2 separate regions of the Homo sapiens genome follow, and region 2 is linked to region 1. Evidence: promoter capture Hi-C in 16 types of primary human blood cells and fetal thymus (Javierre and others, 2016). All regions are on one chromosome and are shown on one strand. Each heading gives the region's core, a stretch centred on a gene start or on the middle of the fragment in contact. The rest is flanking DNA. Distances are from core to core; before and after follow the strand shown.

The links. The method cuts DNA at HindIII sites, captures the fragments that hold promoters and counts their contacts. A CHiCAGO score of 5 or more calls a contact.
Region 2: a contact is called between a fragment that was not itself captured here and the fragment with the promoter of CERS6-AS1 in region 1, in 1 of 17 cell types (endothelial precursors). The highest score is 5.6, in endothelial precursors.

What each region holds. Positions count from the first base shown.
Region 1 is chr2:168,784,795-168,788,060 of GRCh38, reverse strand. It overlaps CERS6-AS1 (CERS6 antisense RNA 1), which reads left to right and starts at 1,632. Exons shown (of 3, transcript NR_045787.1): 1 at 1,632-1,704. It also overlaps a transcript of NOSTRIN not described here. The HindIII fragment of the contact is 3,155 bases long and covers 122-3,266 here.
Region 2 is chr2:168,908,008-168,911,258 of GRCh38, reverse strand. It overlaps G6PC2 (glucose-6-phosphatase catalytic subunit 2), which reads right to left. Exons shown (of 5, transcript NM_021176.3): 5 at 1,259-3,251. The coding sequence ends at 3,180. Among named protein-coding and RNA genes, the nearest start is that of G6PC2, 8.3 kb to the right of the region's middle. RefSeq lists an enhancer at 2,521-3,251. The HindIII fragment of the contact is 5,946 bases long and covers 1-3,251 here.

The DNA of each region.
Region 1 (3,266 bases), core at 383-2,882:
CTTATCACTTACCTTTCTTATCACTATTTTCTTTGCTGATTTATCTTCTTCTTCTCATCCCCCAAACATGGGTATTTCTCAAGGTTCTGCTTTGGCAGGCAGTGCAGAACAGATCAAAGCTTGGACTAAGTTCTTTGCATCACCACTTTCTGGCTGTAAGACCAAGGACAAAGTTTTTACCCTCTTGTGCTTCAGTTTATCTGAAAAAAATTAAAAAAAATGAAAATCACAACAGCCTCCAGTTTCAGTCTTCTACTTCCAATTTTTGTTAGACATGTCCACATGAAAGGACTCTCATCAGCTTAAATTCAAAATGTAAAAATCAACCCATTTTTCCTTTCCAAAAACTGAGGCATCTTCTCACAGCTCCTCTTTCTGTAAATGCATATTCATTCTACAGGAATTTATTGGGCACCTGCTGTGTAGTGGACACTGTGGCTGATAAGGATCAGCTATAAAAGGTAAGGCCTTTGCCCTCAAGATGCTTCCATTGAGTCCAGTGGGGAAGGCCGTGTGATAAGTGTTCTGATGGAGTTAAATGGTTGTACCTTTTCTTCTCAAGGAAGAGCACCAAATTCCCAAAGGCTAAGGCTTTCTGGGAAGACTAACTTCTAACACAAATTAGTCTTCAAGGCCAAGTAAGAGTTAGCGACATGAAGAAGAAGAGGAAAGAGGTCTCTGTGGCAGTGTAAGCAGTATGGCCAGAGTCCTGGAGCTGTCACAGGCATGGCACATTCTGAGACAGTGCCCATGGGGAGGGATGAGGATGGAGTGGAAGGTCAAGGTCAGGCCACTAAGGGGGAGAACAGGTGGTAGGAAGTGGGGTGGAGGCTGCCTCACTGCTTCACGCTATGCCCTTTGTCTCAAATGCCTTTCCTCTTTCCACTTGACTCATTCAAATACTATTCATTCTTCCTAGCTTTCTGCTTGAAACCTTTTCTTACCTGATCCCAGAAGCAGCTGTTACGAGCAGCGAATCCTTATGGGTCCGCAGCGAACTCAATTCTTAGCTCCTTAGAAGAAAGAATTTGGGGCCGGGTGTGGTGGCTCACGCCTGTAATCCCAGAACTTTGGAAGGTTGAGGCAGGTGGATCACTTGAGGTCAGGCATTCGAGACCAGCCTGAACAACATGGTGAAACCCCGTCTCTACTAAAAATACAAAAAATTAGCCAGGTGTGATGGCGGGCGCCTGTAGTCCCAGCTACTCTGGAGGAGGGGGGAGGCAGGGAAGAATTTGACCGAGGAAAAATAAGGCAGACTGAGAGACTGAGGCAAGTTTTAGAGCAAGAGTGAAAGTTTACTAAAAGGTTTTAGGGCAGGAACGAAAGGAAGTAAAGTACACTTCGAGGAGGGCCAAGCTGGCCACTTGAGGGATCAAGTGGCTGGCTTGACCTTTGCCTTAGGGTTTTATATATTGGCATACCTCTGGGATCTTGCATCCCTTTTCTCCTGATTCTTCCCTTCTGGTGGGCTGTCTGCATGCCCAGTGCCCTACCAGTGCTTGGGAAGGGCTGCATGCGCAGTGTGTTTACGGGAGTTATACGCATGCTCACTTGAGACGTTCTTCTATTACCAATCTAACGTTCCTAGAGGAAGGTCATATACCAGTTAAACTCCCCCATTTTGCCTCATAGTGCGCATGCTTGAGCCCACTTACCTAACACCTGAGATCTTATTGGGACGCTGCTGATAACCAGTTTCAGGTTTTTTCTGTCTGTCGGGAGATTGCCTTTCCCTCGTGCTGGCTGTGACTAATTATTGTTTTAGAGAAATAATGATTGTAACAGTGTAACAACCACCTGACCATCACTTGATGGTCGTCTGACATTCCTGGTTGGGCGTGCAGCCCTCTCCTGGCCTGCTGATGTCTGCCTGACTACTATAACACAACCTCTCTCTCCTCTGAACTTTTCTGGCAATTACTATTCTCACAACATATTTGATATAACGATGATACCAATGTCTTATATCTATAGATTTTATTTTTATTTTTAAAAGCCTTTTGCTGGCCGTGTGCAGTGGCTTATGCCTGTAATCCTAGCACTTTGGGAGGCCGAGGCAGGTGGATCACTTGAGGCCAGGAGTTCAAGACCAGCCTGGCCAATATGGTGAAACCCCATCTCTACTAAAAATACAAAAAAATTAGCTGGGTGTGGTGGCATGCACCTGTAATTCCAGCTACTCAGGAGGCTGAGGCACGAGAATCACTTGAACCTGGGAGGCAGAGGTTGCAGTGAGCTGAGATCCCGTGCCACTGCACTCCAGCCTGGGCAACAGAGTGAGACTCTGTCTTAAAAAAAAAAAAAAATCTTTAGAGCTAATAACTTCTGCCTGTGGCCTACCTCCCTAACTGTATTGAGACCCCCTTCAATGCAGCAGCTTTGCCCCTGACTTCCTCATACTCCTCACAAAGCCTAACATAATGTCTCGAACGATTGGTGCTCAATACATTTATTGACTTAATGTTGATGTGCATTTTACTGCTTTCATTAGTGTTCTGGCTCTGTGGGTAAACAATTTGGTACATGTAGCATAGTGTAAACTACTGGTTAGCATAGTGCAAACTATTTTATAACTCCTCAGAAATGACTTCTAAGTGATACAACTAAGAAATGGCAGCACTAGAAGTGTAGTACATCAGGGCTCAGTTCTATGTACCATCTAGTACCCTCAGCTGAGAGAAAAACAATACTCTTTGCTCTTAAAAACTCTAGGGACCCTTTTGAACTCATCTTTGGTGACATAGCTCCAATTAGTCTGAAATCTAACATAGGATTGCTTGATGGCTTGCCAGACAGTAACTAGCACTCTGGGTCAGGAACTTTGGCCAGAGCCAAGAGTTCAGTCCTGATGAATCAAATTAACAGCTATGACTCAAAAAGAGGAGGGCTGGGAACTGCTCTTTTATTTCCTATAACTCAAGTTACAGAAAATAAACTCGCTTTGTAGCATTTCATCCCTCACCTACTACCCACCCCTGGGACTTTTTCCCTATGAGTCTTTCAGCCCATTCTTAAAACCCAGATCCCTAAAAAACTAGCGTTACTACCTAGATCGCTTCCATTCTTCAGTCTGCAATGTATTGAATGACTGAATTGCTTGTACTGGTTCTTTTTGAACCTGTGTTCTGGGTTATGTTTGCCCTTGCAAGTTCCCAGGGTTAGACTGAGGAAGGAGATGTGCCCTTTGTGAATTAGACTGATACAGTGAACTTGAAAAATTGAGTTCAGTTATTGATGTATTTGATTTATTGGGGGTCTTCCCC
Region 2 (3,251 bases), core at 219-2,718, 120 kb before region 1:
TCTCATTTTTAGAACCAAGTCACTTGACTTTTTCTTAAACCAAGATTTTTGTATGTATGTACCAATTTGATCTTGAATTTATTTAAAAATTTTGAAAAAATGTAAAGCATTTCAACATTTGACTTTTAGTTTCAAGGACATCTTATAACAATTCTTTTAATCACCATCTGTTTTATAATGAAATATGTCTAAAGAAGGCACCAACTTAACCTTCTTAGGCAGATGTCCAATCAATAGGTTGTCAAAGGAAAGGAACTAATATTCTTCCTGATAGCTAGTTTCAGCAATAATAAATTATTTTGTATTTTTTTTCCAAATGTAGGTTTGATTGGACAGTTTCTTGAGTCAGATTTTCTCTTGAGTCAGATTTTCTTGTCTAGATTTTCTCATCCTAAAAGCTCATGGTATTGACATTTTTCTCCTGAATATGTAGATAGGTAGACATTTTGAATATATGGTTATAGTAACAGTATTTAATGAGCTCAATTCCACTTACTTCTGACAAATAAATTGGAAACAGAAGAGTCTTTTCCATCATTATTAAGGGCAGGCATTTTCTCCAAGGCTGTGAAAAACGATTCCTCTTGCTGCCTAAGGCGTTTCAATTGCAAAAACAATTTACCACCATATGGATCCCTCCAGGAGACTTCAACTAGAATAAAGAGGGAAATCTACTCCCATGGGGACTCTGGGGTTTTTATGGAAGATAGGGGCAGAGTTCTTGGGGATTAATTATAGAAAACAAGCCCACACTTCATCCCAGTCCCCTCTGAGGGTAATGTGTTGCCCAACAGACAGCACCATGGGGTGGCTGAAGATAGCTTTCTCCATGGAAACGGAGAACGGATTTATGGTAGAGTCAATCATTGCTGCAGAATTCCCTGGCTATTAATGCCGGTTTCCTCAGGCCTTGCTGAAAGCAGGCTGAGATTGTACTAGGATGAAGGGGATGTACCAGAATCCTTCAAGACTAACATTATCTTATGTGAAATTTGGCAAAGGGCTTTTAGACAGGAATGAGATCTCTGATGTGTGGAAGATGTAATGACACAAATGTATCATGAAATGTGAAGGCATCTAAAGGTACAGCATGGTGGGACATAGGGTGGGACTGAACCAATGAGCAACGGTCATCACCTGAAGAATCATTCTTCTCTACTTCTTTCATCCCAAATGTCCCAGCAACATGAGACAAATTTCATTCTTAAGCTATTCTTTCTTAATCCCTCAGCTTTTTGCTTTGGAATCACCGAACCACTAATATCAAGTTCAGTTTATTTACCTTTTAGAAAGTTCAGTTGCCTTTTAGAAAGAAAGCTATTAAGTGCGTTTTATAAAAGCAATGACACATGCTCTATACATATACTTGGAAAGGAGTAATTAATACTTTGATTTTTTGAGGTTTGTTATCCTCAGCTACTATCATGTTAAACAACACTCACTTCAACTGTATTGTTTTCATTAATATTCATAGATTATTTAATATGTCATCTAAAATAATTAATGTATTGATATTCTGAGAAGAGTTACATAAAACATTGTGGGGGATTACTAAGATATCTAGCAAAATCTGCCTCAAAATCCTTGTACTTGATTGAAATGACACAGTTATCAACTTAAAGCCCAGCATTCCTAGATTCAATGAGGAAAAAACACACTTACTGAGAAATTGTTAATATAATATTAATAGTCCATCAACAATAATTTTCTAAAACAAAGCTATAGATTTTCATCACAGTTCAGTATACATAGAGACTAATCCAGCTAACAGATGCAAGCATTTAATAGTTGGCCTGGGTTGGAGCATGACCTTGAGGAAGGCACCTGATTTCTCTGGTTTTGAAAGTCTGTCTCCTAAAAATAAAGTATGGAGATGTCATAGTGAAGAGATAAGTCTTTGGGGGTTGAATAATGTTCTATTAGAGTAAGTTCAGTAGAATTTATTGAAATATTGGTGAGCACTACTGTAAAACAGAGACCAGAAGTGAAGCAGAGGTTCAAGTCCATACTGTAGCCTGGCCTGTTCTGTTGTCCCTGGACCCGTGTGTATATACATCTGGAGCCACTGTTGGTCCCACCTAGACCCTGCATGTATGTGTGGGGTATAAGTCAAAGAGGATGCAGTATTTCAATGTCATTTCTGAAAAGGTAGCTGATTTATATGGCAGTCATCATAGAATCTAAATGAAAGCATTCATTCTTACTGATTTTTACCTCTTGTAAATGAAGAAACAAAAGACAGTGTAGGCCAACTATTAATACAATGGCTCAAGCCTGCAATCCCAGCACTGTGGGAGGCTGACATGGGTGGAACATCCTCAAGGGAACTCCTTGAGGCCAGGAGTTCAAGACCAGCCTGGGCAAATATAGTAAGAAGCTGGCTCTAAAAAATATTCAAAAATTAGCCAGGCATGGTGGTGCACACCTGTAGTCTTAGCTAATGGGAGGCTGAGGAGGGAGGATCATTTGAGCCAGGAGTTTGAGGCTGCAGTGAGCCGCTATCCACCACTGCACTCCAGCCTGGGCAACAGAGCAAGTCCCTGGTTCTAAAAAGGAAACATACAAACAAAAAGCATGTGCATGTGTGCACACTCAAACACACAGTGTAATGGGGATATGTGTCAGAAGCCTTGGGTTCTAATTCCTGCTCTGAAGGTGGCGTGACTCCAGGCAAGTTCTTTTACCTAAATAGGCTTCCATTTCCTCATCTGAAAACTGAAACTGGATATGGCTGTGGTCCCCACTAAAATGTCAACAGGAATCAGATGCAGCCTGGCCTTAAGAAGATAAAGGAATCATAGTGGGGCTCCTGCTGGGATGCTGAAGACTGTGAGAAAATGGAGTCCTTGCCTCCTACTGGGGACTGTTAGTATGCAGCTCTGGTCAGTTGTCTCCAGCTGGGGATGCAGGCTCTGTGTTGTCATACTATCAGATTTTTCAAGAAATACAGAACTTCCGATTTTTATGTCAAATATTCTTGTATCTAAATATTGGTAACTGAAGGATTAAAAAAAAAGACCAGTGCGAAGGCCAAACTAAACATCTCTATGGGGAATGGGGCCTGTGCCGCTATTCTGTGAAGTCGGATTAGAAGCCTCTGGTCTGTGCCTACTCTGTGGCTCTACTGGTGGATGGAGAAGGGTGATCTGTGACACAGAGCACTAACTCTAGGCACCACTCTACTGACTCTTCTTTCCGCTTTGTTTCATTAACATATGAACAGAGTAGGGAATGAAAGCAACCACAGTTAG